7 separate regions of the Homo sapiens genome follow, and regions 2, 3, 4, 5, 6 and 7 are each linked to region 1. Evidence: promoter capture Hi-C in 16 types of primary human blood cells and fetal thymus (Javierre and others, 2016). All regions are on one chromosome and are shown on one strand. Each heading gives the region's core, a stretch centred on a gene start or on the middle of the fragment in contact. The rest is flanking DNA. Distances are from core to core; before and after follow the strand shown.

Region 1 (3,228 bases), core at 729-3,228:
AAATATATGAACGCCTCCAAGACTCTCCTAAGCTCCTCGTTAGTGAAATGTGGGACATGCCTCACGACATATTTGCCCAATTTTATAATCAGAGGAAATGCTTGACTTTGATCAAGAACCACCAGGGCAGTGAGCATTTGGCTAATCAATTTAGGACTCAGGTTGGAAACTATTGATAGGGAAAAGTTGTTTATCTTATTTAAAAATGTTTGGTGTTCATCCACTTTTTCAGTACATGCCTGCAAGATTCTATAAAGGGCCACAATATCCTCCGGGGTAAATGTTTCCAATTTTTCACCTTGAAGTTGATTTATAATGAGTTCTAGTGTCACACAACCTGAACTGTGCAGTGTAATCAGACTTTCCCCAAGAATACAAAGATTGCGAACTTCCATGCCACCTTTTCTGAGACGATTTTGGCATTCTGCCACCAGGTTCAGCAACAGGCTACTTTGAGGATCCACATGCAACAGAATCAGAGCTTGCAAAGCAGTCACTAAACTAGTGTTTGACAGCTGTGAGGGCTCCTTTTCAAACTGAAAGCATAAAGCTTGAAAGATGCTATTCTCCAGTATTTCTTTTGGCAGCCCTTGATCACCATCCTTTTTTTCCACTTCACAAATTCGTTGTAAAGCTCCTGCTGCCATAGTGTCAGGCAGGGTTTCCATCGTGCTTATAAAACTTAGCACTTCTTCTGATGAAGTCAAGTTGCTCAGTCTCCTGTAAAACATCTGACTCTCCTCATTTTTAACATTTTGTTCAAGCCTGTCGCAGTCAGATACTTGAGAGAACACTGGTCCACCGAGTGGATGAAGGTCATTTCCATTTTTCGAATGAAACTTTTTACAATGGGCATGATGGAATTTGACCCCGAAAGGCTCAGGTTGTCGTGAACACAACCAAGGGCACAGACGCTCCTTGACTACCTTGTGAACATGATTTAGAGGTTTATTTTTTAAAGCAGCCAGAGCTCTATGCATCTGAAAATCAGATAAACGATAAAGGTTCTTCCTCAAGGTGATTAATGCCATACCATCAGATTCTCAATTTGATAACTAAATTAAAAAATTTAAAAACACATGGTTAAATACATTGAGAACATGATTGACCCAACATCAATGTTTATGAAACTACAAACGAGTATCTGGAAAAAAAAAAAAAAAAAAAAAAAGGATGGTTAACATATAAACACCAGAGGGGCAAAGTCTCTGCATCCTAGAGTTAGAAGAGTGGCTGACATTGAACAATAACAATCGCTATTACTTGCTAAACACTGTTGTAGGTATTCTATTAACTTACACAGATTCAGTACTTTTACTATCATTTTACACGAGGAAGAAGTTGAAGCACAAAGTTACTTTGCCCAGTTTATGCAGGTGGTTAAGTGGCAGAGCTAGGGTTCAAACTCAGGCAATGTAGCTCTTAAGGGTGGCCCTTAAATGTTGGTTGAAGGAAGAAATTGCATTTGGATAGAAATCAAAGAACAGGTAAAGTGGGCAAAATTAGGCGAGGTTAGAGCAAGGCAAGGGTAAAAACGCGCTGGAAAGGCCCTAAGCTGTTGGTTTCCCCTCGGTGTCGGGAGAAGGTTAGTGTTGAAGGAAAGGGTCTACTTTGTCAATGGAAACAAGGTAGGAAAAGAAAAAGCAAAACATAGATCAATGAAGGGAGAAGGTGGGGCGGCCAGTCCAGATCTAAAGACGGTGCGGGGGGATTTGGCAACACGTGTGTGCAAGACAGACAGACGGGAGGCCCCGCGGCGCGTTTTCCTAGGAATGAAAGGGACCCGCGGGGCGAGCACCCCCAAACTCGGCGCCCCGGGGACCTGCGCTGAGACACGGGCCGGGCGGCGCAGCCTGAGGAGAAAGCCGGCCAGGTCTTTGACACCCAGCCGGACCAACTGCGCGGAGACCCCGCGTTGACACCTACCGCGCTCTGCCGGGCAATCACTCCGGGTGGTCGCGGAAGCGCCTGGGCGTCGTGGGCCTCCGTAGCAAACGCGGGGCGGGAGCACGACTCAGGGCGGCGCAATGTGATTGGCCCAGGTCCCCTTCGGAGCTTTCTATTGGTCCTGGGTACCGAGCATGGGCGCTGCGTCAGTGCGCGCTGGCGCAAGGTTGGTGGAAGTCGCGTTGTGCAGGTTCGTGCCCGGCTGGCGCGGCGTGGGTAAGCTGCCTGTCGGCTACGGTTCCCGGATTCCGGCCGCTCGCCCTGCACTAATCTCCTGGGAGAGGCGGCCCGGGGCGGGGGTGGGCAGCCGGCTTGCGCCCGTGGTTCCCACGCCCTTCGGCCTCCGGGGGTCGCCGCGGGCGCGGGCTGGGGCTCGGACTTGGCCTTTGGCCTTTGGCTTTGGTGTCCCCGGGAGCGTGTCCTTGGGCTCGGCGTCGGCCTCTGCCGCGGGAGGCCCCTGGGCGGCGTGGGGTCTCTCCTCATGTTCTGCCTTTGGTTCTAGGCGCTTTCCAGGCCTAGGGAAACCGCACTCGGGGACGCGGGGAACTGGGGAACATGCCGGGTTGGGGCGGCGCGCTCCGGGGAACCCGGGACGTTCCGAGCGCCCACCCGGCGGGACGCGGCCGTGAGTTCTGCCCGCGGCCGTGAGCTCTGCCCACCGCCTCCGCGCCGCTTCCGGGGCTGCTGGGGCCCGGGCCTCCGCTGAGAGTCGTGGGAAGGTGGTGCCGGATTGTGGGGCAGTAGCAGGGATGAGGGGTTGATTGATCCTGGGAAGCCCTCAGGATGTGTGTTTCATGGGAAGTGATAGAAATTTTAGCTGTAGTAAGGTTTTCATTATCGTTTCCACCGTTTTCTGTGAGCTGTCAATGTGTAGTGTTTTCATATTGTTTATTCACTCATTCAGATAACTTATCGAGTACCAGTTTCATGCCAGGTGCCGTTCTGGGCGGTTCATTCACCGAAAGCCAAGCTTTTGGTTTGGGTTTCAGTTTAAATCTGTCTCTGCAAATTGACAGCCCACCAATTTTAGCCGTTAGATGAGTATGGAAAAAAATCTGTGAGTGTCGTTTGTTTTACTACTGCTTATCTCTTGCGGAAAAACGTGTTAGTAAAATGTTTAAGTGGATTGGAAATATTTTTTCGTTATATGCACCCGTTTGTATATATGCCCATACACTCACATATTTTTGATTTGCATTAAATAATGAAGGAGAGTATGTGCTTCAGTTACCTTTAGTACTATGATTAGTTTGTTTAGCGTTAGGATCAAATAAGAACCAA
Region 2 (3,228 bases), core at 438-2,937, 2.9 Mb after region 1:
CCATAAATAGGCTGTTTTCTAATCCCAAATGGTGGTAAATTCACTTAGTGTGAATGCTGTAAGCCCTGGAAAAAGTATTTGAAGAAGAAACGGAAAATGCAGATTCTCTTCTCCAGATGTGTATTTTGTGTCCGTGGCTACATCACTAAACCTTTCTGAGTCTCAGTGTCCTCATCTGCAAGTCAGAGATGTGAACACTAATGCCTCTCCCAGGAAGGTTGTGAGAATTAAGGGCTTTGACTAAACATGATTATGCCCGTACAGCTCCGTGTCACCCCACTTACCCCCTACAGGATCCTGAGACACAGGGGGTTCTCTGCCCTTTTTTGATGGAGAAATTGGATCTGTAGCTGGATTTTCTAAGCTTGGTGCAAGGATTGGTAGCTAGTGTGGGGAGACCCAAGAGAACCCAGCTCTTGCTATCTTATCCATTGTAAATTTAAAAGTGTTTTGTAAGCCATAATATACTAGAGAATGTACTGTTATTACTGCAAAGGGAGTTTCTTTTTATCAGCATTCATGAAATATACGAATAGTCCCAGTGTGTATTAAAATAATCCCACATAACAATCACTTCGATGAATATTGCTTTCTTTATTCCAGGCTGGTTTCTGTTTCCTGTCTTCTTGTGCTGTTGTCTGATAGATGAGAATTTTGTATTCTTATTTACTACTTCTATGGCTTGAATGTGTCTCCCAAAATTCATGTGTTGGAAACTTAATCCCCAATGCAATGGTGTTGAGAAGTGGGATCTTTAATAAGTGACTGGCTCATGAGGGCTCTGTTCTCATGAATGGATTTATGCTGTTATCACAGGAGTGGGCTCCCGATAAGAGGATGAATTCAGCCCTCCTTCCTCTTCTTTCACGTGTTCTCTTGCCCTTCCACCCTCCACCATGGGATGACACACCAAGAAGGCCTTCACCAGATGTGGGCCCTTGACCTTGGACTTCCCAGCCTCCAGAACTGTGAGAAATAAATATTTGTTTTTTATAAATTACACAGTCTCAGGTATTCTGTTATAGTAGCATAAAATGGACCAAGACAATGACCCAGGATTTCTCTGATTTCTCCTCCATTGTTAATTTTGCTCATAAGGGGAGAGCGTCAGTCATTCTTGACTTTGCTTTGTAACATCTAGGATATTTCTTATTATACTATGTAGTGTAGGCTTTAAATTAATTTTAATGTAATTTTTGACATACACACATACACATAAAACACTTGAAGAGGATATACATATCTCAAAATCAAATAAAAATGATAGAATATATTTTACACACACATATACACACATGTGCGTGTGCACACACACACACACACACAAGTGAGGGATCTTTGGGATTTCACTGGGCCTCAACTTATCACTCAGTGACAGTTTCAGGCATTTTTCAAAAGTAATTCAACAGCTAATAAAGAGCATGGAGGTCCATTTTAGTCACATATGAGGTTATACTTTAGTTAACAGTATTTGAAGAAAAAAATAACCAGGCTGAACCTTGGCAAAATATTCCTCTTATCTTTATTTAAAAGTTAGAAAATAGAAACTGCAAAAAAGTTGAGAGTAACACAACCATGAATATTGATTTTCTAGGGAATTTCGAATGCTTTGTAAGTTATTTATAAAAAATGTGTTTTAGCAGAGAAATGGGAAGTGGTAAGGAAAATTTTATGTCTAGCTCTTGCATTGAGTCATTATTTGACCTTGTGCAAGCTACTTATGCATTCTGTAATTACATTTCCATATTGGAGGCCATAATACCTATCTTACTTGAAGATTCAAATAGTTATTCAATATTATGTCTTAGCATTTACAGCCCTCGTGCTGTACTATGTGCCTCCTAGAGGTAGTTTTGGCAATCTCAGAGTTTTGATAGCATTAGTGACACCATTTTTCAGAAGGGCTGTTTTCACAGGCTTTGAAGTGAAGAAGGTCTCAAAGAAGAGGCTGTTGGCCTGGGTTATTTTTTCCTCCAAAGGAGCATGTTGTATCTTCTCTTACTGGCCATATGGACGTTTTGACTACATTCAAGAAAGAATTAATTTTTATGAATAAGTTTTTTAAAAAATACAAAAAAATACACTTTGGAAAACCTAAATAACAGATTAATGTCCAAAGGAAAAAGCAAGTCACCACTTCTCAACAATCCTACCAGCAGGTAAAGTTGACCACTTGTAACATTCTGTTGTACGTCCCTCCAGGCTTCCAGACAAAAATAGACAAGGATTCTTTTTAGCTATCTTATTTTGTAAATTGTCCCTTAATTTGTGTTTGATGTTTTTCTCATAGTTAAAAACAGGAGTTACAGGTTTTTGGAAGGAAGATCATAGTGACCTTTTTTTATCACATTATGTTAATGTGATTATTAACATAATGTTATTAATATGACTAATCACTGAAGATGTCAACCTGATCACCTCATGATAGAAAGCGTTTTTAAGTATGGCCATTTTATTAGATTTAAGTTAATTTATTGGTGAGTTCAGCTCTATAATAGGACTCAATATGAACATGGGCTAAATTCTTTGTATCACAACCTTGAAGTTCCCCAAGAATTGCTAAGAGTCTATATTAACAAGCCTATGCCTGGTCATGAGTCTGGAAGATACCTCTGGGCTCTTGCCATCTCAGCTTTATTTGCTCTCACTATTCTAGGGTTAGAGATGGCAAGTAATTTCCTTAAAAAAATTTAGAGCTTTTTTTTTCCTGCTGAAATTACTTGGTTTTTTTTTTAGACCATCTTTCTTCTCAACAAATGATTTCCTATAATTGATTAATTATTCCATTCAGGGTGAAGTATCTGTGTGTGACTTTGCAGGCTAGAGAGGGTTGTAAATAATGACTTCTGTCGGATCCTAGTCCTCAGTGTGTTTGCAGAAAAGCCAGCTCTGTTCTTGCTCAATTTTAGAAAAGGTCCGAGCTTGGGAAGTACAATTGCTGTTAATCCAGATAAGAACAAATCCCAAAGCCATCCTTCAGGTTTGGAGGGACCCTCTGGGGCACCATTCACAAGCTTTTCACTGACACAAGTTAATAAAATGCTTTTGGCCATGGAAAAAATAAAAGAAAATATACAATTTCAGTAGCTCACTGGAGACTTACAACATGACTATTCACGGCCTTAACAAAGAACCACAGGGCATTTGGGTAAAGAAAAGCTACACTTAGCATTCCAGGCAAGGTTGTGGCAAAGGTATAACTTGACATGACATCACTTAGCACAAATA
Region 3 (3,228 bases), core at 197-2,696, 2.9 Mb after region 1:
CTGGAGACAGGCTGTATAAGTAGAGAGCTTAGTGCTTTCTTCTACGTGGACGAGCTCCCGCAGAGGTGTGTTAGTGGTGCCTGTTTGCGTATTGCAAAGTCGAGAGAAATGGATTCCTTTCAAGGTCCCTGAACCCAACTGGAAATCTGAACCTTTAAGGAAAATAGGTGTTGAGCAGGGGAGGAGGGGTCTGCAAGGAGACCCCTGTGCAGGCCCCAGGAGGGTTGGCAGCAGAGGTATCATATAAGGACACCCAGTCACTCATAAGGGCATGGCCTTGTAATTCTAGATCTGGCTGATGATCCGAGGGAGGAAATGCTTCAACCATTCTGAAATCAGAAGTTCTTGCCCCAGCTACACAGACAGCCAGGTCCACCCCTGAGGTTCAACTAGTGCGGCAATTCTCAAGGGTCTCCATGTGATTTCAGTATGGAAGCCTAAGTTGCAAACTACTGCCCAGAAATTGTTAGTATTTGTTTCTCTGGAATGACAACAGAAACCTGGAGTACAAAAGACTCACAGGTGCAAGAATTTGCCTACTTCGTCCACTCTGGTGGTCCAGCCTTGGGAAGAGGGTGGCTGGCAGCTGTGTCCACCATCAGAAAACCAATGAGCCACAGGAAGCTGCTCCTGCTTGGCTTGGCTTGCCCTGGCTTCCAGGAAGGGAGGCACACTGGCTAAACCCAGGCACCTGGGCAGGTGGAGGTAGGTCTCTAACTGTGCAGACAGACGGGGCACCAGCCCCTGGGTGTGGGGTGGGGAACAGGGTGGGCGCGTGGCAACTGCTCAGGAAAGAGGACCTCTAGGGGCTCTATTTTCTCCCCTGACTGAAAACAAAGCCCCCTCCTCCCTGATTAGGAAGGGAAAAATACACAGAACAGGGCCCCACATAGCCCAGGAGTTATCAGAATCATAGAACAGAGAACAAATGTTAATGCTTAACCGAATAGGGTTTTTGGAAAACATGCTCAAGAGTCGCTAGCATCATCCCACCTGGGGCTTTCCCATTCCTGGTCATCCTTGTCTTTCTCTTCTTTGGTGTCTCCTGTATGTGGGTGTTTCTGCACAATTCGCATTCCACCAGCTTTCACTGAAATGAAAACAGAGAGTGTGGGATTAATGTGGAAATGGGGCTGCCTGTGGATCAGGGGGACCAGCTGGAAAGGTTCTGGTTGCTCAGTGGCCACAAGTCAGTCTGGAGAATCTGGCAATGAAAATGATTAACTAGGGAAGGTCAGGGTTGTCGGGGTAAATTCAAAATGATACAGCACTCAACATAATCTCTTACTACAGATCCACTCAGAAACTTTCCAAGGCTCTTGTTTTTCTATCTGGTCACCTTTCAAGTATTTTGTCAGAGCAGCAGTGTAACGAGGGCACAAACTACACAAAGAGAGTGGCTGCTGCTTTCAGTTCTCCACAGTCTCAACACAAGAGCTCACCTCAACCCTCCCCTGTGAAATTTACTTTCTCAAATATCGAAGATGTTTTTGATGGGGTGATATGGTGATGGGTGACATGGGACAGCTACTGTGCCTTCACAGAGCCCAGGCAAGTGGCAACAAAACTTCTACTGCAGCTTTGCCCAAACTGTGCTGTGAAACCCTACCGCTGGCAGATGTTAACTTAGTTTTAAAAAACAGCTTTATAGATATGTAATTCATGTAGAATACAATTCATTCATTTAAACTGTATAATTCGATGGTTTTGAGTGCATTCAGAATTGTACAACCATTGCCATAATCAATTTTAGGAGATTTTCATCACCCCAAACAGAAACCCCACAGCCATGAACAGTTACCCTCCATTCCACCCCTCCCAGCTCCTGGAAGCCAGTCACCTGGACTTGCTTATTTCGGACATGTGATATAAGTGGAATTATAAACTATGTGGCCTTTGGTGACTGGCTCCTTGCACTTAGCGTGTTTTCAAGGTTCATCCATGTTACAGCACGTGTAAGTATCTCATTCCTCTTCTTGTCAAATATTCTATTGCATGGATGTATCACATTGTATCTCTCCACTCATCAATTAGACATTTGCGTTGTTTCTACTTTTTTGGCTATTATGAACAATGCAGCTGTGAAGAACTTACACGTAAGTTTTTGTATGGACATATGTTTTCATTTCCTTGAGTATATACCGAGAAATGGAACTGCCAGGCCACATGGTGCCTCTGAATTTATCCTTCTGAAAACCACCAAGCTGTCTTCCAAAGCCTCCACACTATTTCACATTCCCACCAGTGTGTGGGTTCCAATTCTCCACATGTTCCCGACACTTACTATTGTGTGTCTTTTTAATTATAGCCATCCTAGTGGGTGTGAAGTGGTCTCTTATTGTGGTTTGATGTGCAATTCCTTTATGGCTAATATGTTAATACTGTGTTGTAAGGGGTCGGGTAATCTAGCATCTATTAAGAGTGGGAAATGCCAGGTTGAACAAAATTAAATAGGTTTCCCCAAGAGAGACCTTCTTGGCCCTTAGTGTGCTACCTGCATGAGGAAGACTTACAGGAGGCATACAGCTTGCCAGCTCTCCCCAGCCTATCTGACCACACAACTTTTTTTTTTTTTTTTTTTTTGGCTATAATACCAGTTATCCTCCATCAGGGCTACAGTGTTCCATGAACAGAATTTGGAAATGCTGGCTGGCCCTAAATCCAAAAAGCCAGCCTCGCATGGTAGCCACCAGCATGTGTTTGGGGTCGGCACGTTCCTCCACGCCCTCAGCTATGTGGTCTCAGACTAGTGTCTCAGATTCTCAAAGATTCCCTGCTTCATCTGCAGAAAGGAGATAAACCTCCTCAGACTATTAAGAAGAGAGAGGCGTTCGGGAGAGTGGGGTGCTGGCTAGAAAGCAGGGTCATTTTCCTTGTAGTCATTGGCCCCCCAGGCTCTGGATGTGGGCCTTACTGAGCTTTACCCTTCAAGTCTCTGAGTCTCTGCCACAAGACGGCTAACATCACGATACAGTCAACTTGCCACACCATGTCCTCTGGCATTTTAAACTGAGTGGACCCTGCCGAGTCACGAAAACCCAGGCCAACTTTCTTTATGCTGCTGATGAACGGGAAGGAGAATGGGAGAGGCAGCCTGGGGCTTACATGCTTCAGGTGTACTGGTCTTCAATTTCCCTGGGAGACTTGGCCAGCCCGACTGGAGGGAGATGGTGACGTTTGCTCCCAGGACCAGCACTGCCCCAGCAGCTGGCTGTTAGAAAAGGGCAA
Region 4 (3,228 bases), core at 341-2,840, 2.7 Mb after region 1:
TAGAAGTACAGGGTATGGAATGAATAAGAAAAGTATACTCATGACAGACATACATGGTACTAGGACAGGGTCTGTGTTTTTGCTGTTGTAATTCATCCCCTGCATGACCTCTTTCTCATTGAGTTTCTTTCTTTCCTTTTCTTCTTCCTTTTTTTTTTTGAGGTGGAGTTTTGTTGTTGTTGCCCAGGCTGGAGTGCAGTGGCAAGATTTCAGCTCACAGCAACCTCCGCCTCCCGGGTTCAAGTGATTCTCTTGCCTCAGCCTCCCAAGTAGCTGGGATTACAGGCACTCGCCACCATGCCCAGCTAATTTTTGTATGATTAGTAGAGACAGGGTTTCACCATGTTGGCCAGGCTGGTCTCGAACATCTGACCTCAGGTGATCCGCCTGCCTCAACCTCCCAAACTGCTGGGATTACAGGCATGAGCCACCATGCCTGGCTGAGTGAGTTTCTGTGTTCCGCTCTTCTAGCCTTGCTAGTTCCTTTAAGTTCTCTGTCGAGCTTTGTACATCTGTTGTAAAAATTCCAAGCTTAATTTCAGAAAGATTAAGTGAATCAATGGTTGGAAGAACATGTAATTGTTACTGACAGTCACTGCCTTCAGGTCAACGGTTAACAGGCTTAGTTTTCTTTCATCACATAATGCTTGTATGATCACTGCGTGGAAACCACTCCCAGTGTTGGGAAAATTAGATGAGCCTCTGAGATAGGAATAGATTAGGTATATACATGAAGTTGGCAGAGGGAATACAGTTGAACAAAGTAGTGGTTTCATACATTACTAATCTAAAATCATAAATCCCAGCGAGAGGTTTGCAGTGATAATAAGATTTACGTTTTATGCAAAATTTAGTCTAAAGGGAAATTGTTTTGAATTACTGACAACCTTGAATTTATCAAATCCTGATTACAGGGCTACAAGGTGACCCCATGTTGGAAGGAATTATCTTGATGTATTTTACATATTTATTTATTTTATTAATAAAATGTCATTTCTTTATTTAAAACAGTTTATTAGGCATCTCTTTATTTGAAGCAGAAAAGCATAGATAAAAATACAAATATTGGCCTGGCACAGTAGCTCACGCCTGTAATCCCAGCACTTTGGGAGGCCAAGGTGGGCGGATCACAAGGTCAAGAGATCGAGACCATCCTGGCCAACATGGTGAAGCCCTGTCTCTACTAAAAATACAAAAATTAGCTGGGCGTGTTGGCGAGTGCCTGTAGTCCCAGCTACTCGGGAGGCTGAGGCAGGAGAATCACTTGAACCCACGAGGTGGAGGTTGCAGTGACCTGAGATCGTGCCACTGCACTCCAGCCTGGCGACAGAGCAAGACTCTGTCTTTTTTTTTTTTTTTTGAGGTGGAGTCTTGCTCTGTCGCCCAGGTTAGAGGGCAGTGGCGCAATCTCAGCTCGCTGCAAGCTCCGCCTCCCAGGTTCATGCCATTCTCCTGCCTCAGCCTCCTGAGTAGTTGCGATTACAGGTGTGCGTTACTACACCTGGCTCATTTTTTTGTATTTTTAATAGAGACAGGATTTCACCATGTTGGCCAGGCTGGTCTTGAACTCCTGACCTCAAGTGATCCACCCACCTCAGCCTCCCAAAGTGTTGGGGTTACAGGCATGAGCCACCACGCCCAGCCCATTTTATAAGTACATTTTGTGCCCAATCAAGTATCAAAGACATAATCTTAAAATAAAGGACAGTTCTTCCCAAGGGAAAAAGAAAGTAGGCAACCTGACACATGAATAGATGATGTATGCTACTGTTACACGCACACACACACACTCAGAATAGACTGTGATGCTGTGATAACAAACCACTTCAAGTCCCAGTGGCTTAAAATAACAAAGGTTTGCCTCTCGCTCATTCATGCTGTTGTGCGCCGGCTAGAGGGGGCAGGGCTCTGCTCTCTCTGCCCTCACTCCGGAGGCCCAGTCTGGGAGCAGTTGCATCTCTGAGCTTCAAGGGCAGTCAAGTCAAGAAAAGGGAAGGTGGCACATCGTCCACCGTCTCTCGAAACTTCCTCCTGGAAGTGACACCTGCTATTTCACTTACGTTTAATTACCCAAAGCAAACCAGATGGTCAAGTCAGAACTCAGAAAGGGTGGGGAAATGCAATTTTACCAAGAGGCAGGAAGAAATAGATAACGGAATAACGCCAGTGAGTACTGCAGCTGAATCCAGTGCAACTGAATTGTCCTGGTTCAAACAATTAAAAAAGACTTTGTGTGTGTACTTTCACCAGCTTCTTCACAGACCGTCGCCCATACTTGAGTGAATCTTCCTCCTGTGCATGCTACTGTATATGATAAGTGGAAGAGAATAGAGAGTGTTGTCAGGGACATTTTTGAGGAATACTGAAGTCTACTTGGGACAGTGAAACACACTGGACGATGAGCTTCCAGCTGCTTGTTTTCCTGCTGGACTGTCTGTGAGTTCATCTTCTTATTTAAAGCTCCTTGTTACTGAGTGCCTCCTAGCAGCAGTTTCCTTTAGCCCTCTCTAGGAGGAGCACAAATGCCTATTCCTGGCAGCCTGAGCATGTCGTCTTAGGCGTCCTCTCGTGACCTGTGGTCTGGTGTTTTGCACAATCTTCATCACCACTCCTTCTAGAAGGACTGAGAACTGAATTTGACTTTTAAAACGAAGCTTGGTAATCAAGAATAGCAACAGCAGGCTGAGTACGGGGGCTCACGCCTATATTCCTAGGACTTTGGGAGGCTGAGGCGGGTGGATCACTTGAGGTCAGGAGCTCGAGACCAGCCTGATCAACATGGTGAAACCCTGTCTCCACTAAAAAAATACAAAAAAAAAAAAAAAAATGGGCGTGGTGGTGCATGACTGTAGTCTCAGCTACTCAGGAGGCTGGGGCAGGAGAATCGCCTGAACCCATGAGGCGGACATTGCAGTGAGCCAAGATTGTGCCACTGCACTCCAGCCTAGGCAACAGAGCGAGACTCCATCTAAAAAAAAAAAAAAAAAAGAGCCGTGGTAGTTCTGAAGGGGAAGAGCAAGGAAGGTTTCTTCCCTGCAAAACACAAGGCTGCAGTAGCGAATCAGGATTGCCTTGGGGCTGAGGTAGATTGTTAGACCAATGGGAGCAACTCTCAGGTTCATTCCTGTGTTTATGGGGAGGTGGGATGAGCTTGAGCATGCTGTTACTACCAATGGGAAAAGAATGGATGTGTTCATATATTGTGCTAGGAAAACAGAAAAAGGTAAA
Region 5 (3,228 bases), core at 189-2,688, 2.6 Mb after region 1:
TATTGTTCGTAAACTGGCAGCTCCCGTGATCTCTGTGCTGTTGCTTTCCCTGTGTGTACCTTATGTCATAGCTTCTGGTGTTGTTCCTTTACTAGGTACGTAATGCTGGTTGTGGAGCCTTGAAGGAGCACTTTTATTAACATTGGACATTCTCTTTACCCCTAGTAAAAAGGATGTCTCACTCCATATGCTTTATTTGTAAATGTGAATCCAGCTAAGACAATGATTTCAAAATACCACTTTTCTTAGATTTGACTATTCTGGGTAAGATTAGAGGATCATAAAGCTCTTTGATACAGTTCTTTTCTCTACCAGAAGATAAAACTTGAAATTTACATGCTGTACAAAATAGGCAGGATCAGATTTCCTTCAGGTTGTCTTCTTCTGACTAGAAGTGCTGTGATCATATAAAATTAAGTAACAGTGTTGTTGTATTTAAGTTTTAAAGAAATATTCTTTGGCATAAAAGATCCAAAGAGGAGATGCTAATGGGCAACACGTTTATACTGAAATACACTGTCTTGTTGATTGTGTAGTGAAGACTCCTCATAGCTCCTTAAACCCAACATATTTTCAAAATTATAAGCAGAGACTTTTCCTTCCCAAATCTTTTTCTTCTCCAGAATTCCGTCTCTCAGCAGCAAACATTATCATCCAACAAATTGCATAAGTCAGAAACCTTGAAGGCTATCCATGTCACCTTATTCTGTCCTCCATGTCCCTCTGGTCTCCAAGTGTCCCATTCTTCCCTGAAGAATCTGGTCTCTCGTCTCTGGAGCCTTTGCTCCTGACTTTTGTTGAGTCATTCGTCTCCTACCCTAACTTTGGCACCTTCCTATCTGGTTTCCCAGCCTTGAACCTGCCATCACTAATTCCTTCTCCACACTGGGCACAATGACCTTTCAAAAGAATGAATCTCATTGTACCTCTTTGGTGAACATTTTTTTCATTGGTTCCTCTGTGGCCTTTAATGCAGTCCAACCTTTTGGCATAGTTTACAAGGCTCCTCCTTTTGCTTTGATGTGGGCTTCAGTTTGACCTCACTCCATGTCATATACTCTGAGTTTTGATTAAACAACCATGGAATGGCCTCTTATCAAACACACAATGTCCTCTCCATAACTGTCTCCACATTTTCATTTGTCTTATCCATCTGCCAGAAATGACCCCGTCCTCCCTTTAACCGTGAGAGAGGAGCTTAAAAAAAACACACAACCAAACTTGCAGTGTAACATGTATACTTGTATGTTACCTTACTAGGTCAAGAAATAGAACTTTTCCAGCCCTTTGGAAGCCCTTTGTGTGTGTGCCCTTCTTTACCTTTTGCCACTGGTTTGACTTCTAATAGTCTCATTGCTTCTTAGACAGTAAAGATATTAGCCATGTGCAGTAGCTACTTGGGAGGCTGAGGTGGGAGGTTGCTTGAAGCCAGGAATTGAAGACCAGTCTGAGCAACATGGCGAGACCCAACCTCTAAAAAAAATAAAAATAAATTATCTGGGAGTGGTGGCGCACACCTGTAATCTCAGCTGCCCTGCAGGCTGATGCAGGAGGATTGCTTGAACCCAGGAGTTCAGGGCTAACCTCAGGTTGTGACACTCCAATCTAGCCCAGGCAACAGGCCAAGACCCTGTCTCAAAAAAAAAAAATTGCTCAACACAGGTTTGTATAGAGAGAGGCTGAGCAATGTATCCCTCAGTCTGCAGGATGGCATGGGAAACAGGGAACAGTTAAGCTGAGGGCCCACAGTGTGCAAACTGCATCATTTCCTGGTTCCTTCTAAGTAGAAACTTCAAGGCTTTTATTTGGTTTGAATTGTGACTATGCCAAGTATCATAAATACCATATTAAAATGCAAATATATATTTCCTGCAAAATATATTTCAAAGCCCATTGCTTTTTAGTTTTTTTTTTTTTTTTTTTTTTTTTTGAGAGACGGAGTCTCGCTCTTTTGCCCAGGCTGGAGTACAGTGGTGCAGTCTCGGCTCGCTGCAACCTCCACCTCCTGGGTTCAAGCGATTTTCCTGCCTCAGCCTCTTGAGTAGCTGGGACTACTGGCATGCGCCACCATGCCCAGCTAATTTTTGTCTTTTTGTTAGAGACAGGGTTTCACCATGTTGGCCAGGCTGGTCTTGAACTTCTGACCTCAGATAATCCACCCCCCTCGGCCGCCCAGAGTGCTGGGATTACAGGCATGAGCTACCACACCCAGCGCATTGCTTATTAGTTGAATACGTCTTTAAAATTAAATTATTTTGACTCTTTAGAACAATCTCTTTACTGGTTTTGTCTAGAGTAGGAATGCCCTATTTTCTTTTTTATTCTAATTAGCATATATTATGTTCTGCCCATTAATAGTATATAGACTTAAGAATTTGGATTTCCAACCCAGTCATTCATGTTTTCATTTTTAAAAATTTTATTGTGAGCATTTCTGGAAAGACTTTGGAAGGGAAAAAGAGTGGCAAATGAAAAATGTTGGTACCTGTTTTGCCCTGTTTAGATGCTTTATGTAATTCTTACATGTTATTCTTAGGGTAGCTTTTTAATATGTTTTGTCAACTCTGTTTTAGAAATGGGAAATTGAGGTTCATAGAGATTGAGAATCTTACCCCAAAGTCTGGTTTTTAAGGAGTAAGAGCAGCATTCAGATTTCAAACTCAGCTCCAGAGCTTATGCACAGCACACTATTGTGGTGTTTGGAATAATCCACCTGACGGTATTAATTTTCTGAATTCCTCGAAAGTACTTGCTCTGATTTTAAAGCCCCCCAGTCCCCTCTGCCAAAGAAGTATTAAAACTCATGAGTTAAATATAGAAAAATAAATACATGTGTGTTCTAAAAGTTTGAGGATTTTTTTATTATATAAGCACAGTTTTGGTTTTGCTTCTTTAAACTGTGGTGCAGTAGAAATGTATCAATGACACCACTGCTTGTGGAACATGAGAAGTCATCTCGTCCAGTTCCTTTTTTTTTTTTTTTTTGAGGCAGGGTCTCACTCTGTTGTCCAGGTTGGAGTGCAGTGGCTTGATTGATCTCGGCTCCCTGCAACCTCCACCTCTCAGGTTCAAGCGATTCTCCCACCCCAGCCTCCTGAGTAGCTGGGACTACAGGTGCAACGCCACCACACCTGGCTAATTTTTGTATTTTTTGGTAGAGACAGGGTTTTACCATGTTGGCCAGGCTGCTCTAGAACTCCTGACCTCAAGTGATCCGCCCGCCTTGGC
Region 6 (3,228 bases), core at 208-2,707, 2.5 Mb after region 1:
CACCACACCTGCCTAATTTTTGTATTTTTTGGGGAGACCGGGTTTTACCATGTTGCCTGTGCTGGTCTTGAATTCCTGAGCTTGAACCATCTGCCTGCCTCAGCCTCCCAAAATGTTAGGATTACAGGCATGAGCCACTGTGCCTGGCCATCATTCCATCCTTTAAAATTGTCTTCATCGTTGTATTTCTTTTTATAGCATTTGTTACATTACTTTACAAATATGTATTGTTTTATCCCAGATGGCAGAAATCATGTCTTATTTAGGTCTTTTTCTCTCTGTCTCTCTTTTTTTAATTTAAAAAAATATTTTGTGGAGACAGGGTCTGACTATATTGCCCAGGCTGGTCTTGAATTCCTGGCCTCAAGCAATCCTTCCACTTTGGTCGCCCAAAGTGCTGGGATTATAGGTGTGAGCCACTGCGCCCAGCCTCTTATTTGGATCTTAATGCTTTGCATAGGAACATGATTGTTCAAAAATAAAAGGTTTACTCTACACATAGTAAAATCTCAAATTTGTATTTTATTAAATTAGAATTGGAAAATACTTATATCCTGATTATTTAAAGTGGCAGAAAAAATGCCAGTAAGGGTATAGAAAGTGGGCAGGATGGGGTTACAATTTAGGAATAGTGACTGGTAAAGACCTGAGGGGGTGACAGTTGAGGAAAGCCCTGAAGGAGTTGAGAGAGTGAGCCACGTGGATCCCTGAAGGCAGAATATTCTTGCAGAAAGTAGGTGCAGTGGCACCCAGGTCTGTTTGAGGATCTGCAGGGAGGCAAGTTTGTCTGTAGTAGGAGGAGGAAGGCAAAGAATTGGCCCTGAAGTCAGAAAGGTCATGGAGAGCCACCTCCTAGAGAGTCTTACACGACATAAGCACTTTGGCTTTTGCTTGAGTGAATTGAGGAGCTCTTGGAAAGCTTTGAGCAAAGGAGTGATCTAACTTAGGTTTAAAGAGGATCATTCTGACTGCTGTGATGAGAGGAAACTGGGTTGGAGTGGCTAGGTCAGAAACAGGAAGCCAGCTGGGAGGATAATGCAATGATCCTGGTGAGAGGTGAGGGTGGCAGAGATGAAGGGGAGGTAGCAGTGGAGGCCTTGAGAAATTTTTAGGATATTGTTAAGGTACAGTCAAAAGGATTCTCTAGCTGTTTGGATGTGAGGTGTCAAAGGAAGGAGTGACCTTTTGTGTAACATGCTACTAATATAGCAAGTGAGGAGAGAACCAAGACCTACCCATCAGTTTAGCAAAATGAAAGTCTTTGGTGACCCTTATCAGAAACAATTTGGTGGAGTTTGTGGGGAAAGCCTCACTGAGTTGGAGAGAGAATGAAAGGAGAGGTAATAAAGACAGTAAGTTTATTAGATTCTTAAGAAGTTGCGTTGTAATCCCATTAAATAGTAGTCATATGCAAAATACAATTCACATTATAAATCCTGCCTCTTTCAGTGATGCTCCAGTGAGTGAACTGTCCCTCGAGCTGCTTCTGCTTCAGGTTGTCTTGCCAGCATTACTCGAACAGGGACACACGAGGCAGTGGCTGAAGGGGCTGGTGCGAGCGTGGACTGTGACCGCCGGATACTTGCTGTGAGTATGGGCAGCTGACTCCTTGGACATGCATGTCATTTGTGACTATGGAATAACCTTTCTGGAAAAAGTATGTTCCATGGCCCACTCAAGAAAAATTAGTTTTAATAAGAGACAATTTAGTAATATTTGCAATTGCATATAATACTTCTAAATGAAATTTTTTTTTCTTATTGTCCATCCTTTCATGGAGAATATATACATCTTTTTGCCCTCTTATAGAAGTTTGCTGCTGGTCCAGCTTTCATGGAGTAAATGTCTTTTTTTTTTTTAGTGCATTAAAAACAAACCAGTTTACCTTTATTTAGACCAACTAACTTACCTTTATTTAGTGCTCATAACCTGGGAAATGGGTTCTTCTCAAATTTGATTTCTCAATCTTCTAGTGAACATGTTGCATTTTTTTCCCCAAGCTTTATATACTCTATATTTATTTAAAAGTTGAATCTTTAAAAGTTTTTCAGTTTGGCATCTTGTAGGTATCTTAAAGGTGAAGTACAGATTTGGTTATATTTGCTTGAACATCTGTCGTCCTCTAACTGCTTCCTCCCCCAGTCTCATTTCTGACCTAACTGATTTATAGCTTGGAGGTTTTACAAATTTATAGCTTGTAGCTACATGTTGCAGTAGTCATCTGTAGAGAAGATAAGAAGTTTTTCTTTTCCTCCTGTAGATCCTTAACAATATTGTACATTGTAAGTATGTACTTACACCTTGTGCTTGTAAGTACTTACCTCTTGTACTTACAAGTGTACTTGTAAGTATCTTGTACATTGTACTTTTTTCTTTCAGTTACTGATTTCTTCTCAGATACTGGCTGAAGAAAACGTAAAATAGGTTGAATTTATGGGATATCCTACAAGTTCATTAACATTAGAAAGGTTTGATTTAAAGTGGGTACAAACATTTAGACCAAAATTAGGTAATAATGTGGTGCACAAATTCTGTATTATACATTTTCTACCCTTAGTAGTAAATATGAAGAAAATGAGTGTCATGTCTGCCATTTTATTGTGACCTGAAGTGAGACTTGTTACTGATGTAATTTTTGCACAGGGATCTTCATTCTTATTTATTGGGAGACCAGGAAGAAAATGAAAACAGTGCAAATCAACAAGTTAACAATAATCAGCATGCTCGAAATAACAACGCTATTCCTGTGGTGGGAGAAGGCCTTCATGCAGCCCACCAAGCCATACTCCAGCAGGGAGGGCCTGTTGGCTTTCAGCCTTACCGCCGACCTTTAAATTTTCCACTCAGGGTAGGTGCTATACAGACTTAATCACATATAGAGGTTTTTTTGGTTTTTTTGTTCTCCAAATTGCTGTTGAGAATTGGTGCTATTAGTATGCAGTCCTCTGTGTAGACATGTTCCACATTTTATTACCCTCATTATGTAACGTAAATGATTAGGTAAGTTTATCAAATTTTAGAGATAAGTCAAAGAGTTGGGATTCCCTGGGCTCTTGCTCCCTATTTAAGAGGAAAAGACTCTAGAGTAATTAAGAAACTAACATTATTGATACATTTCAACAGTGTGTCAGGAACTAGAATGGGCATTTGGATGTTTTCTCATTTAATCTCCACTCAAATACTGCAAAGTGTAGGCGATAATTTCATGTTTATAGCTAAGGAAACTGA
Region 7 (3,228 bases), core at 501-3,000, 2.5 Mb after region 1:
TAGATAACTTGTCCTTGGCCACATAGCCAGCCAGTTAGTGGCAGAACCAGGATTCAGACCTAGCTACCAGGTACCAGTATTATCAGACCAGGATTAAAACTGATGTTGATGCTTAGAGATTCTTTCATGTTCATTTTGCTTTGAGGAAATTACAGTTTTGATTAATTGAACCTTTTTTAATGGTAGAAAAATGTGTTGTTTTTATCTCTAGCTGTTGTAGTTTTTCATTCTTAGAAGGCAGTTACAAAAAGTTAAGAATATTCTAAATTTGAAAATTTTGAAACTAAAAGCTCTGTGATATATACATTTTTAATAAAAACAATGTTTTCGACAAAACTGTAATGTTTCTTTGCTGTAAACACTGTACTTATGAATCTATTTATAATTACAGCTTAGTTCAATGGCTGAAACACAGTCGAAAAGAATACTGTGAATTATGCAAGCACAGATTTGCTTTTACACCAAGTAAGTTCTTTAGACATTTTCACTGCATTTTTTTTGGTTATCACTCGTGGCATAAAGGTGTTTGATATGATCAGTTGACAGAGGAAGGGGGATAAAAGTGCTTAAGCACTTTAAAGCAATTATTTTCAGCTTGATTTTTTTTGATAGTAATAGGAAGTATTGATATTTAGGAAAATATTTTGAAAAACTGTATGCTGTCTTTTATCACACACATGTTTGAGATTTGTGGGGTGTTTTTTTTTGTCTTTAAAATTTATTTACTTTTAATTGTAGACAGGTTCGAACACATGCAAAAATCTAACAAGTCCACATGAACCCATCACTTAGTGTCAACTCATAGCCTGTCTTGTTTTACATACACTCTTGTTCCCTGCCTCTTTATCCTTTTATTTTTTTCTCTATTATTTAAAAAATAATTCTACCATTTGTAATTTCATCTGTACATACTTCAGTATGTATCTCTAAAAGGTAAGGGTTCTTTTTCAAAAACGTAACTATAATACCATTATCCACCTAGAAAAATAAACAATGATGCCTTGATTTCATCAAATATTCAGTACTCTTCAAATTTGGACTACATTTTGAGTTAAAGTTGTATAGGTTAGAATAATAGTCATAAAGATAAAGCTTTTTTTTTTTTTGAGACAGAATCTCGCTCTGTTCTGTTGCCCAGGCTGGAGGGCAATGGCGTGATTTCAGCTCACTGCAAGCTCCGCCTCCCGGGTTCACGCCATTCTCCTGCCTCAGCCTCCCGAGTAGCTGGGACTACAGGTGCCCACCACCACACCTGGCTAATTTTTTTGTATTTTTAGTAGAGACGGGGTTTCACCATGTTAGCCAGGATGGTCTCGATCTCCTGACCTCATGATCTGCCTGCCTCAGCCTCCCAAAGTGCTAGGATTACAGGCGTGAGCCACCGCGCCCAGCAAGCTTTTTTTAAAAAAATAATAAAAAATAGAGAGAGGGTCTCACTATATTGCCCAGGTTGTTCTTGAACTCCTGGCCTCAAGCAATTCTCCTGTCACAGCTTCCCAAAGTGTTGGGATTACAGGCTTGAGCCACATTGCTTGGCCAAACAAAGTTTTAAATTACCGTTTTTTTCATGAGGCTAACTTTTAAGGTCAATATTTCATAAGCCTTTATAAAATATTTTTGCAGCCTTTAAGGTTTTAACTATGATTCCTGTGCCTATTAATATTTAATATGTTTTATCTCAAATAAGTAGAGGACTGTGCTGGCAAGTTATTAAATATTTGAAGCATAATTTTTCATTCTGGGATCCCCTATATTGCCTTCCCTTACAAAGGATTTTTGTGTTTTAGTTGTGTGTGTGTGTGTGTGTGTGTGTGTGTGTGTGTGTTTAAGCATCTTGAGCTTCTCGATATAAATGCTGTAACTTAGTGTTTTACTTTGTTTTTATTTGATGAGTATAAATGATTAAAGTTATTACATTTTCACTTTTGGAGCTGTATATTCATCATAAAAAAGTCAATTCTGTTATTTTGTAGTCATTAATTTTCTGTAGTACGTAAAAGCTGTACAGCTTGTCAAGATTCATAGGAAACTAAGACTAACTAGTTGAGTATCTTCATGAAATTCAGTTGATAGGAAATATGTGGGCTTTTACTTTGAGGCCAATAGAAGCTTGTTTTGTACATTTTAATTTTCATTTGATAGTTACATTCTCTATTTCTTTTATCTTTTGCAAAAAATCTCTATTATTCCTGGTTTTAATGACTTGCTCTTGTATACCAGATATCCTATCGAAGTCAATGATCTGTGGGCATGTGCCATTAAAAGTTGCTATTTGTGGCCAGGTGCTGTGGCTCACCCCTGTAATTCCAGCACTTTGAAAGGCTGAGGCAGGCGGACCACCTGAGGTCAGGAGTTTGAGGCTAGCCTGGCCAACATGGTGGAAACCCTGTCTCTACTGAAAATACAAAAATCAGCCAGGTGTGGTGGCAGACGCCTGTAATCCCAGCTACTTGGGAGCCTGAGGCAGGAGAATCACTTGAACCTGGGAGGCGGAGTTTGCAGTGAGCTGAGATTATGCCACCGCACTCCAGCCTGGGCAACAGAGTGAGACTCTGACTCAAAAAAAAAAAAAAAAGGTGCTATTTGTCAGTTGTTTATTTCTCAATGTTTATAGGTGTGAACAGTTTTGTGATAGTGTTCTTATAAATTTTAGATCATTGCTTTTAAACCCTGATATATCATAATTTCTTGTTTTGGCCTTACTGGAGAAAGAATTGTTTGTTTTTCCTTTATGTTCTTTCCGAGCTACCTGTGGTAGAGGTTTTTGATAATAGGCAGTGGTTTTTTATTGGAACCATTTTAAAAGGGAATCCTTTTTAAATGTGGCAGAACTTTTCTTTTTCTGAATGTGTTGAGCCACATTTCTCAGAGTAGTGGGAAGATCTGAATTTATCATTTGAAATTTTAAGTATTATGCTAACATCGGGAAAGTGGCTAACAAATGTCAGTGGGATGTTTGCTCCCACATGAAATGATCTGCTGCGGACTGTTGTGCTTTTTGAGTGCTATTTAATGCTTATATTTGGGGGAGTGTTGATGGCTTGTTGTCAGCTTCATCTTTTGCTCCTGTTTGCTTTATTACATCTTTTATAGTTTGGGAAACCAGATGATTATATTGGTTGAATGTTAAAATGTGTGTAAATGGGCCTTGTATGAGGTTCATGGCTATTAGCAAGGGATGTGAACATCTATTGAATTTTTTTTTCCTGCCCAGAGGCCTTTGTTGAT

Evidence for each region. Contacts are between HindIII fragments. The CHiCAGO score rates a contact against its expected background, and 5 or more counts as called.
Region 2: a fragment that was not itself captured here is called in contact with the fragment with the promoter of FASTKD3 in region 1 in 3 of 17 cell types (activated CD4 T cells, total CD8 T cells and naive CD4 T cells); the score reaches 10.2 in activated CD4 T cells.
Region 3: a fragment that was not itself captured here is called in contact with the fragment with the promoter of FASTKD3 in region 1 in 2 of 17 cell types (activated CD4 T cells and total CD4 T cells); the score reaches 6.4 in activated CD4 T cells.
Region 4: a fragment that was not itself captured here is called in contact with the fragment with the promoter of FASTKD3 in region 1 in 2 of 17 cell types (total B cells and erythroblasts); the score reaches 6.4 in total B cells.
Region 5: a fragment that was not itself captured here is called in contact with the fragment with the promoter of FASTKD3 in region 1 in 1 of 17 cell types (total CD4 T cells); the score reaches 6.1 in total CD4 T cells.
Region 6: a contact is called between a fragment that was not itself captured here and the fragment with the promoter of FASTKD3 in region 1, in 3 of 17 cell types (total CD4 T cells, total B cells and naive CD4 T cells). The highest score is 7.6, in total CD4 T cells.
Region 7: a contact is called between a fragment that was not itself captured here and the fragment with the promoter of FASTKD3 in region 1, in 6 of 17 cell types (naive CD4 T cells, total B cells, naive CD8 T cells and 3 more). The highest score is 8.6, in naive CD4 T cells.

The regions. Positions count from the first base shown.
Region 1 is chr5:7,867,053-7,870,280 of GRCh38, forward strand. It overlaps FASTKD3 (FAST kinase domains 3), which reads right to left and starts at 1,979. Exons shown (of 7, transcript NM_024091.4): 1 at 1,927-1,979; 2 at 1-1,144. The coding sequence starts at 1,031. It overlaps MTRR (5-methyltetrahydrofolate-homocysteine methyltransferase reductase), which reads left to right and starts at 2,096. Exons shown (of 15, transcript NM_002454.3): 1 at 2,096-2,163. RefSeq lists silencers at 1,989-2,428, 2,439-2,488, 2,549-2,598. The HindIII fragment of the contact is 2,367 bases long and covers 549-2,915 here.
Region 2 is chr5:10,766,808-10,770,035 of GRCh38, forward strand. It overlaps DAP-DT (DAP divergent transcript), which reads left to right. Exons shown (of 3, transcript NR_187555.1): 2 at 817-968. Among named protein-coding and RNA genes, the nearest start is that of DAP, 7.2 kb to the left of the region's middle. The HindIII fragment of the contact is 2,650 bases long and covers 363-3,012 here.
Region 3 is chr5:10,747,182-10,750,409 of GRCh38, forward strand. It overlaps DAP (death associated protein), which reads right to left. Exons shown (of 4, transcript NM_004394.3): 2 at 994-1,090. Among named protein-coding and RNA genes, the nearest start is that of DAP-DT, 12 kb to the right of the region's middle. The HindIII fragment of the contact is 7,852 bases long and covers 1-3,228 here.
Region 4 is chr5:10,605,387-10,608,614 of GRCh38, forward strand. The region is part of intron 1 of ANKRD33B (ankyrin repeat domain 33B); the gene reads left to right. Among named protein-coding and RNA genes, the nearest start is that of ANKRD33B, 43 kb to the left of the region's middle. RefSeq lists a silencer at 1,860-1,909 and an enhancer at 2,580-2,829. The HindIII fragment of the contact is 2,123 bases long and covers 530-2,652 here.
Region 5 is chr5:10,426,428-10,429,655 of GRCh38, forward strand. MARCHF6 (membrane associated ring-CH-type finger 6) reads left to right here. Exons shown (of 26, transcript NM_005885.4): 24 at 1-95. Among named protein-coding and RNA genes, the nearest start is that of ROPN1L-AS1, 14 kb to the right of the region's middle. The HindIII fragment of the contact is 3,847 bases long and covers 1-3,228 here.
Region 6 is chr5:10,408,690-10,411,917 of GRCh38, forward strand. It overlaps MARCHF6 (membrane associated ring-CH-type finger 6), which reads left to right. Exons shown (of 26, transcript NM_005885.4): 18 at 1,450-1,587; 19 at 2,644-2,848. Among named protein-coding and RNA genes, the nearest start is that of MIR10397, 7.9 kb to the left of the region's middle. The HindIII fragment of the contact is 1,081 bases long and covers 918-1,998 here.
Region 7 is chr5:10,378,368-10,381,595 of GRCh38, forward strand. MARCHF6 (membrane associated ring-CH-type finger 6) reads left to right here. Exons shown (of 26, transcript NM_005885.4): 3 at 392-465. Among named protein-coding and RNA genes, the nearest start is that of MIR10397, 22 kb to the right of the region's middle. The HindIII fragment of the contact is 714 bases long and covers 1,394-2,107 here.